Regions from separate parts of the Homo sapiens genome. Here region 1 is linked to region 2. The links are contacts of gene promoters, found by promoter capture Hi-C in human tissues and cell types (Jung and others, 2019). All regions are on one chromosome and are shown on one strand. The core of a region is centred on a gene start or on the middle of the fragment in contact, and the rest is flanking DNA. Distances in the headings are between cores, read along the strand shown.

Region 1 (5,455 bases), core at 2,623-5,122, 1.6 Mb before region 2:
AACTTGAAGGCTCACTTGAAAATTCATAGCAAGGAGAAGCATGCTTCAGATGCCAGCAGCATTTCTGGCAGTAGTAATACAGAAGAGGTCAGGAATATTCTTCAGCTACAGCCATATCAACTCTCTACCTCGGGAGAGCAGGAAATTCAGCTTCTCGTAACCGATTCTGTACATAACATCAATTTCATGCCCGGTCCTAGCCAGGGAATCAGCATTGTGACTGCAGAGAGTTCCCAAAACATGACTGCAGACCAGGCTGCTAATCTTACCCTGCTCACGCAGCAGCCAGAGCAACTGCAGAATTTAATTCTTTCAGCTCAACAGGAGCAAACAGAACACATTCAGAGCCTCAATATGATTGAAAGCCAGATGGGGCCCTCACAAACAGAGCCAGTGCACGTGATCACTCTGTCCAAGGAAACACTGGAACATCTTCATGCCCATCAAGAGCAAACAGAGGAGCTCCATTTAGCTACAAGTACTTCAGATCCAGCTCAGCACCTGCAGCTGACACAGGAGCCTGGTCCGCCACCACCCACTCACCACGTGCCCCAGCCAACGCCACTTGGCCAGGAGCAGAGCTGACCTGTAAACACGTTTGACTGCTTGATTGGGCTCTTCTTATAAGCCAGCTCTGACTGGATTTTGAACGCTTGAAATCAGGCTCTCCACACCATTGACTTGCAGATGCTTCTGTGAGAGCTGTGATGGCTAACTGATGTTTATAATGCCCTCCATCCAGGTAGCAAGATGTGTGTATGTCTTGTCTAAGGTACTGATTTGTATTGAGCATTTCAATATTATTGAATGGTTTTCATTTTAATCTGCAATGTCTCATAAAGACTCGGGTAGTTTTTCTTTGGGGGCATTGATCTCAGTTTTTCTGTAAGGTTTAAATGTTCACAGCCATAGGTTATGGTCTTGCCAACCTCCCCAGTTATGTTTTTTTGTTTTCTAGGACAAAGGGAGTCATTTTGGTTGAACTGGGCAGAATGGTTTGTTCTATTTTCTTATTTTTCTTAGGCAACACAGTTGTTACCACAAGACAAGTCAGGGCTAAATATGACAGATCACAATGTATGGGGAATTTGCCCTTTTAATAATTTCCAGTCCCCTAAGACAAAGTAACCCTCAACGTTTTATCTTTATGCAGTACAGTGGGCTTATTGTGTTAACACTTCAGAAAGATTCAAACTCATAAACTCAGTATTTTAACTCAAAATTCATGTAACAAGATAGCCAAAAGCATAGGATTTCTTAAAATTCTGAATTCGTCTTTTCTGAGAAACATAAATTTACATATTTTTCAACAGAAGGCTATCAAAATTTTAATTAAGTTTAAAATACAAAATTGGATCAAGACATTCACCCTAAATTCTGAATTTTTGTCAGAAAAGAGATTTGATTTTCATGAAGGTAAAGCTTTCTTCACTATTCTGGAACATAAAACTTTATTCAGTGTAATTTAAGTCTTATATATACTCTACTGAATTCTAACTGATCTCCTGAAAATGTTGATCTACGTGTTGTGTCTGATAACTTTCTGGAGATGGAAGCTTATAATTCATTTTTATTGCAGACTAGTTAAATCCCACAAAGTGAATATCTTCTCCTAATCTTTCCTTTTTTAGAGACAGGGTCTCACTGTATCACCCAGGCCAGAGTGTAGTGGCACAATCATTGCTCACTGTAACCTCGAATTCCTGGGCTCAAGCAACCCTCCCACCTTAGCCTCCCTAGTAGCTGGGACTACAGGGATGTACCACCACACCCAGCTAATCTTCATCTAATCTTAAAACTTTGAGCCTCAGAGACTTTGTAGCCAGCATGTGTCTGTAATTGTATGATTTTTAAATCATCATCAAAAGATTAAATTATGTTTGGGTTAGGTTTTCAAGCTAAGCTTATTGAATTCTTTTACCACTTTCATGTAAGCTGGTAGGGGATTTTTGAGAAAAGAAGGTGGGCACTAGTATATCTAAATTAACAATGCTGATGGGGAGTAGGGGGTAATCTACTCTAAAATTAATAGAGCCTTTCCATCAATTGTTTTGTTTTAGACATCCTTGATTTCTCCCTAAATCAAATAAGTTATTTGGAGGTTAGAGTAATAGAGAATTCTTCAGGTTTGAGAGAAGATAAAAACATTTTGGTTGCATATTTGCTAAGCTATATTTTATTATATGTAATTCACAAAACTTCCAAAATGATATATATCTTATATGTATCAACCAAACTAATGTTAAATCAGGCCTGACTAGAGCAAAGATAACAATTTTTTACAAACACTGTTAAGCCCTAAGTATTATTTCAGGTTCTCGTTTAAACTGTTTAATTTTATTCTTAAAACACAAAGTTTTTACCAACTTTTCAAAGCCCACCAATCCACATTTTCTCCAGGAAATTAAATATTTAAGTAAGTGAGTGTTTACTCACTCTGGATAGCTAGGTGATTATTCAGAAAATACGGTTACATAGCTATTTATAAGTCAAGTTTCACTGGCTCTATAACAGTCTACCTCTACACTAAGAGAACTATAACATGAACAACATAGGTCACTTTAAATGTTCTAGTAGCAACTTTTAAAAACATAAAAAGAAGCAGGTGAAAATGTTAATAAAAGTTTATTTAATCCAACATTTGCCAAATATTTCAACATATAAAAATATATTAGTGAGACATTTTACATTCTCTTTTTCATACTAAGCTTTCGAAATCTGGTGTGTATTTTACACTTTCTGCACATCTCCATTTGGATGCTAATGTTCATTGGACATACTTGATCTGTATTTAGATTTCATACAACTTACAGTTGAAAACAGATTCTCATATCAAGTAGCTAAGACAAAAGTTTTTTTCAAGAATTGAAATAAGTATCAGTTTAAAAATTTATATTAAATTTATTAAAATTAAAATCCAGTTCCTTGTTGCATGGGACACAGTGCAAATGCTTGATAAGCACATGTGGCTAGTGGCTGCTATATTGGACAGCATGGGCCACCTGTTTCTAACTTGAGCATCAGTCCTAGCTATGCCTGAATTATTTGACCAGCTGTCAAAGAGAAACAAGGAAATGATAGCTTTGTTAATCTAGCCTCTTTCTTTGTCCCACATATACATTCTACCCCTTTGAATAAAAAAGTTCAATGACGCCGGGCGTGGAGGCTCATGCCTGTAATCCCAGCACTTTGGGAGGCCAAGGTGGGCGGATCACGAGGTCAGGAGTTCGAGGGCAGCCTGACCAACATAGTGAAACCCCATCTCTACTAAAAATACAAAAATTAGCTGGGCGTGGTGGTGTACCCCTGTAATCCCAGCTACTCGGGAGGCTGAGACAGGAGAATCACTTGAACCCAGGAGGCGGAGGCTGCAGTGAGCTGAGATCACGCCATTGCACTCAAGCCTGGCGACAGAGCGAGACTCCGTCTCAAAAAAAAAAGTTAAATGACTTGAGTACCCAAAAGAAATGTCGTGAACATGAAAGTACTTCTCATGTGTCCTTGAGAAATGATGTTGCTAGTGCAGTGTTTCACAATTCATTTTCTACTAAATGTGTACCATTTTTTAAATTGTTTTAACAGAAATATAGAGTGTGTTTCTTAGGAAATAGAATGTTATGCTTTGGGGCTCCTGAAACACCTCGTTTTGAAGGTGAATCTTTGGTTTTCTCCCAGAAGAGGGTCTGCCTTGGGATGATTGGAGCTCTTACCATCAAAATCAGTTATTCAAGTGCTTGCCCAGTGCTTCTTGAAACTCACCTCTACTCTGTATTTTCTACAGTTGGTTCTTGTGTTATAAATGTTGTGAGCAACAGATTAAATGATGCTGAGGAATGAAAAAAGATTCTCATTATAAATGCTTACCTAGGATTCTCATTATAGATGCTTATCTAGGTTTTCATAAATGGGAATGTAACAATATCTTCCAAATATGGAGTCCTTACTATTGTCCAGGAGCCAAGCCAGGTCTGTTAAATCTGTATCATATCTTACTGGGTCTCAAACATCTTCCATGTCATGGCACACAGATTTACAATATAGCACCCTCTGGTTGGAGGACTCCAGTCCCCTCTGTTCATGACTGGTATATTAGTTTGCCATGACTACCATAACAAATACCACAGACTGGGTGACTGAAAAAATAGAAAGTCCAAGATCAACGTGTCAGTGGGGTTGGTTTCTTCTGAGGCCTCCCTTCTAGTTGTCTTCCCCTGCCTGTATCTTCACATGTCCTTCCCTCTGTCTTACTCTCTTTTAAGAACACCAGTTGTATGGGATCAGCCCACATTAATGTCCTCATTTAATCATCTTTTCAAATACAATCCCATTCTGAGATGCTGGGTATTAGGACATCAACATGTGAATTTGGAGTAGGGGGACACAATTTACCTCCTAACAACTGGCATCTGAGTGAGGAGGGGAGCAGTGTCTGGGACACACCTTAACCACTGGAAGCATGTCTCATCTTAATCTTCATGACATTCTGGTGAGGTGAGTAATTATTATGCTTATTGGACAGATGAGAACATGGAGCCCAAAGAGAAAGTCTGTTGCCAAATGTCATACAGTAAGTGGTAGAACCAGAACTAGGGCACAGGCTTTTAAAACTTTAAGCTGGATTTCTTATTCCCAAGGTTAATAGAACCAAAAGAAAAGGACAATTTTCTTATTAAATAAGTAATTTCTTATTTATTATTAAATACATAATTTATTTCCCACTTATTAAGTTCTTATTAAAAATTACATATTTAATAAGAACTTACTAATTAAAGAATGTGACCTGCTTAATGTAATAGAAGTTTTTGACTAAAATTGAGGGTCTATGTCTGGAATTATAGCATACTTTTTTCTTTTTTTAAGTGGAGACAGGGTCTCACTATATTGCCCAGGCTGGCCTCAAACTCCTGGCCTCAAGCAGTCCTCCCACCTTGGCCTCCTAAAGTGCTGGGATTACAAGCATGTGCCACCTGCATACAATTATAACTTTTTTACATAAAACAATAGTAGTGAAAGTTACGGTCTACAGAAATTCAGTAACTACCATATAATCATGTTAGTGTTTCACTACTATTGATTTAAAGCTTAATTGGTAAGAAAATGTGGCACATATACACCATGGAATACTATGCAGCCATAAAAAAGGATGGATGAGTTCATGTCCTTTGCAGGGACATGGATGAAACTGGAAATCATCATTCTCAGCAAACTAACACAGGAACAGAAAACCAAACACCACATGTTCTCACTCATAGATGGGAATTGAACAATGAGAACACTTGGACACAAGGCAGGGAACATCACATACCAGGGCCTGTCATAGGGTGGGGGGCTGGGGGAGGGATAGGATTATGAGAAATACCTAATGTAAATGACAAGTTGATGGGTGCAGCATACCAGCATGGCACATGTATACCTATGTAACCTGCATGTTGTGCACATGTACCCTAGAACTTAA
Region 2 (5,049 bases), core at 613-3,112:
CCTCCCAGGTTCAAGCGATTCTCCTGCCTCAGCCTCCCGAGTAGCTGGGATTACAGGCAAGCGCCACCAAGCCTGGCTAATTTTTGTATTTTTAGTAGAGATGGGGTTTCACCATGTTGGCCAGTCTGGTCTCGAACTCCTAACCTCAAGTCCAGGAGTCCCAAAATGCTGGGATTACAGGCATGAGCCACCACACCTAGCCCATCCATCTTATTTTCTTTTTTTTTTTTTTTTTTTTGAGATGGAGTCTCGCTCTGTCACCCAGGCTGGAGTGCAGTGGCACGGTATCGGCTCACTGTGAGCTCCGCCTCCCGGGTTCACGCCATTCTCCCTCCTCAGCCTCCCAAGTAGCTGGGACTACAGGCGCCCGCCACCACGCCCAGCTAATTTTTTGTATTTTTAGTAGAGACGGGGTTTCACCATTCACAGGATGGTCTCGATCTCCTGACCTCGTGATCCACCCGCCTTGGCCTCCCAAAGTGCTGGGATTACAGGCATGAGCCACTGCACCTGGCCCATCCATCTTATTTTCTTTTCTTCTCCTCTTCCTCCTTCTTTAGTGAAATCAACTTATATGAAATGAAAATGCAAACTACCAAACCTGCCTTTTCCCATACAAAACAACAAAATTTGATGATTAAATGAACTAAAGTAGTGAATTTCTTCTTGCTCAATTAATTACAAGGCTTTGACTTAAAACAATTTTTTATATTTTCATAATAAATTTCAGAGGAGAGATTTCTTATGTACTTCTAATGTGACTCTACACATATATTTAGAGAAACCTCAAGTTGTCCATTGCAGTTTTTTTCACTCTCAGTAACTGGCCAGGTTGTGGCCTAAGCCTTCGTTAGCCCTGGTTGATATTTAGTCCCGGCTAAATTTGTTTGCTGCTCATCCCTAGGAGTAAGCCACATGTTTGTAGAATGGATGTTTCATCTTGTAGGAAATACCTGTGAATATGCCAATATCCCAGAGTGGATGAAATGGGCAATGGGGAGCCCTGCTCCACTTTACAAAAAGAAAGGAAAAGAAAAGATCCCTTCGCCGATATATATTGATTTGCTGCAGAAAATGCAATGGGGCATGGGAATGAATAGTCACTCTTGCCCTGTTTCTATCCTGTGCAGGTCCCACCACGTTGAGGTGGGTAGAGATGCTTACACACACACACATACAGGCCTGGAGCCAAAGTCAGGGCCGGCTTTAATGAACTGTACACATATGTTGTGGGCAGCCGCTGATTTAATATGTACAACCATGGTGTGTGCACACACCTGGATAGGCACACTGCTCTGGGAATCACACAGGGTCTCCTGAACAATGATGCTATTGTAATATTTCTTTTTGTTTTATTTGTCCAAAGTCAAACATTCACTCTGTCAGATCACCAGTGTCTTATAAGCCTGGTGTTGGCCCACACTGCTGCAGGATTGGGACAAAGAGACGATGTTACAGTCTGGTTTCTATGGCAACAGAGGAGGGGTAATGAAAACTGAAATGTTGGAAACACCCATTCTAACCATTGTGACATAATTCAGGTTATTACAAGGATGTAACTACCAAAGAAGCAGAAGTGTCATTACCTTGCAGCTCATGTCGACAAAAAGCTACACTGCACATTTCTCTTAGGCTGCTAAGAGGAAGGAAACACAAAACACACACACACACACACACACACACACACACACACACACACACACACACACACAGAGGCCTCGTTTTCTGCATGTAAAATGTGTGTGTTCTTTAAAAGCCAGTGGTTGGCTGGTTTTCCGGACATGATGTGGTTGAAGCTGTCATCGTAATGGAAATTCATTGCTGTAGCTATGGTAAATCGAGTTTTCTGCCTGTGCTGAATGCATTAGTCTAATGAGATGTTTGCAGCTGGAGCGCAGGGCTGCTGGAGACTAACTGTGAGCTACTAACACGGGTGGAAGATAGCTTTTGCAATACTCGGTTTGCATGTGCTGAAAGTCATCTGTCTTCTGAGTCAACACTCCCGACCTGGTAAACAACCTGCTCAGGGCTCTGGTGAACAAGCTGTAGGTAAGGGAGATGCACAATTGGAGGCGTGCCGTTGACACGGGATCTTTCTCTTGTAACTGTCAGCATGACAGGTTACCTGTTTCAGTTTTTTCTGGGTTGCATGCCTACCTCTATGGCAACGCACAAGAGTGTCCTGCACTAAAACCACTGAGTCCAGTAGGTAAACTTTAGTTCCTCATATGCAAAGTACAGCATTTAATTTATTAACCAGATCTCAGAGGGGAAAATGTAACATTGAATTATATAGTTTATAAATTTGGGCTATATACATGTTCATTACTCTTTAACTCTGCATTTAAATACCTAGAAAGTTATTTTTTTCCAAATGTGAACTCAAGTAACCGGTTAGTTATTTTTTCCCTTCACGATAATTTTGCTTTGTTTTGCTTTTTAATTTTAAAAAAATTGTACTATGTCTTGGGATAAAAATATTTACCTAAAATTTGGTTATTAAAATTGGTATGTTATGAACATGTAAAAGTGTTTTTTTTCCCATTTAATTTTATTTCAAATATCCCAGGTAGAATATTTCACATGTCTTTGTGCTGGTTTTTCCTAATTTATGAGGCATAAATAAGAATAATATTTACTGCTAGTTTCTGGTTTTAATTCGTTTTTTGGGAAAAAAACTGGTGACTATGGAGTATTAGCGGCAGTTTTCCCAAGCTCAAAATCACCTCCTTCCCAGGTGGAGCACTGTGACTTGAACCAGCTTCCACGTGCTCCTCCCAAAGCATGAGGGGTCCTCTCCAGGTTGATTGCTGGCTGGACAGGAGCGGTGGATGAGGCCAGGGTGCAGGCTGCTGAGCTGTTTTGCTGAGTTGAGGTGCTTGAGTCAAAGTTCTTTCCACTATCTGTGATCGTGAACGAGAGGTGTCTCCTCGTGTTGTCTCTAGATTCCATGACGGTACTCATGAGGGTTAGACAATCAGTGGCTTTCTGAGAAAGTGGTTTTTTACTGATCTCAGACACTACAGTACTTGAGAAAGTAATCCAGGCACTTCAGAATCAGGGTATTTGTTATATGCTGTTTTTCTTTCTTTTCAACCAGAGGAACCATTTTTGAAGAATGAGGGATATAGCTGCTTTTTTTCTCCACTTTTTTTTTTTTAAAGCAAAATAGAATATCTGGAGTGAAAGCATAAAAATAACTACAAAGGAATTCTTAGTGTGTTAAACTATCTGGGGGGTATAATATTTGTGTGGAGCATTTTTTGTGTTGCTTGGTAGAACTAGTCTGATAAAATGAGGGGCTGTTTGAGCAACAGCAGCTGGGTGAAGATTACCTAGAAAATCGGTACTGCGTGATCGTCTAAACTCAAAAGGTTAATGTAGAATCTTCAGTTTTAGGGAAATTGGTGGCTTCACAAACTATAACTTTTAAACAGGCTTTTTGACAGAATTTTTAAAAAATATGAATGTGTTTTCTTTAGCTCTTTAAATTGTGTACGTAGATGAGCTCTGAAATATTTTGGTAAATTCATCAGTTTGCTTCATTTGTGGAATTATAACAAAAGTGCAAAGCCCACAAAAATCCAGTTCTTTCATGTATAACATGTTTACATTTCTTCCCTGTGTCCCCAAAATTACTTTTATTTTGCTGCAAAAAAAAAAAAAGAAAAGAAAAAAAGAAAAGAGTAAATGAACGGTAATAGAAAGACAAGAAAACAATAAGCGAAACGAGTAAGTTGCTTTTCATCATTTCTTTGCTTTTGGTGGTGTGTTTTCGAGGCGAGGGAAATCAGCAGAAGCAGTTTCACTTTCTGGTTCTTGACTCCTGGGGGTGAGGGTGAAAGGCTGTCTCCTCTAGCAAGCAGCAGGTAAGCTAAGCAGCTCAGCCCACAGAAAACAAGCCAGACCCAAATACTGTCACTTGCTGCAAGAACTTTTATAATGAGAGTTCAAAACAATATTGACTTTAAAAAAATACTCAGTAACACTTTCCTATTAAAAAATTCAAGCACTACCCCAAAGTACAAAGATAGACTTTTTTAATTTTTAAAATTTGAAATGATGAGAAAATCATCTCTGCTGTTTATGTATTTTTAATCTCAATTTTGGATCTCAAATACTTCAATACTTTTAAGGAAACATAACTGAAGTTCCCTGAAATCATAACAAGGAATGCTCGGAGAGGAATAACCTTTCTGGGAGTCTGGGGGCTTAAATGTTAGAGTGCTTCGTAGGTCTGTTTACAATTTTGTGTGGCCTGAGGACACATCACACATGTGTCCACACATCCTTTATGACACGCACCTTAAAGAACTTTTGGTCCAGGCAGAGGTGGTGGCTGGAGCTTGAAAGCCCTCACAGGGGCCCTGTTAGGGATCTGCAGGACAATTTTCCTCCCCAAGTCCCTGCCCTCGGAAACCTCAATATCACATGGGTAGATGCCAGGGAGCCGGGATGTGCCCATCCCACTCCACAAGTCCTGAAGAGCGTGGCAGGTGACACTACCCCTCATTGGGCTGGGAGCCTTAGGATACCAAGCATCTCCAGTGTCATTCTTCCCCTGAGCCCTCAGATTTTATGTGGGGATGGAATGGGAAAGAAGGGAAAGGAGATGAGAAAAGACCCTCTTTTAATCTGATTATCATGGAGCGTAAAATCTTGTCTAACATTTTGTGGATGAAGTTTGTGAAAGCAGTTGCCTTTGGTGTGATCACACAAGCTTCTTTCTTTTGGTGGGCACATCTGATGTTTCTAAGAAGGAACTTTTAAACAATGCCTCCCTAGACATCTTATTTCTTAATTCTGCCATCTCTCAAAAGGCTAGTTTTAGATTTACACATTTTTTAATGTTTTCATTGCCTTCAAAAGCAGACAGGTGAGGAGAGAAGAGGGGGATTAAATCAGCCCCTGGGAGAGACATTAAACGGCTTGGTACAGATATCATATAACAGAAGCCACCAGGGTATCTAGTAAATTACTCTAAATTTTAATTAATGAGTCACAAAAGCCACACCACAAGCTTTAAAAATTACCCTTTTATCAATAAGG

The links. The method cuts DNA at HindIII sites, captures the fragments that hold promoters and counts their contacts. A contact is called where the count stands out against the background at its distance.
Region 1: a contact is called between a fragment that was not itself captured here and the fragment with the promoter of SCML4 in region 2, in 1 of the 25 tissues and cell types used here (hippocampus).

The regions. Positions count from the first base shown.
Region 1 is chr6:109,460,981-109,466,435 of GRCh38, reverse strand. It overlaps ZBTB24 (zinc finger and BTB domain containing 24), which reads left to right. Exons shown (of 7, transcript NM_014797.3): 7 at 1-3,842. The coding sequence ends at 585. It also overlaps a transcript of MICAL1 not described here. Among named protein-coding and RNA genes, the nearest start is that of MICAL1, 7.9 kb to the right of the region's middle. The HindIII fragment of the contact is 4,283 bases long and covers 1,731-5,455 here.
Region 2 is chr6:107,821,126-107,826,174 of GRCh38, reverse strand. It overlaps SCML4 (Scm polycomb group protein like 4), which reads left to right and starts at 1,862. Exons shown (of 8, transcript NM_198081.5): 1 at 1,862-2,049. RefSeq lists an enhancer at 3,710-3,779. The HindIII fragment of the contact is 11,941 bases long and covers 1-5,049 here.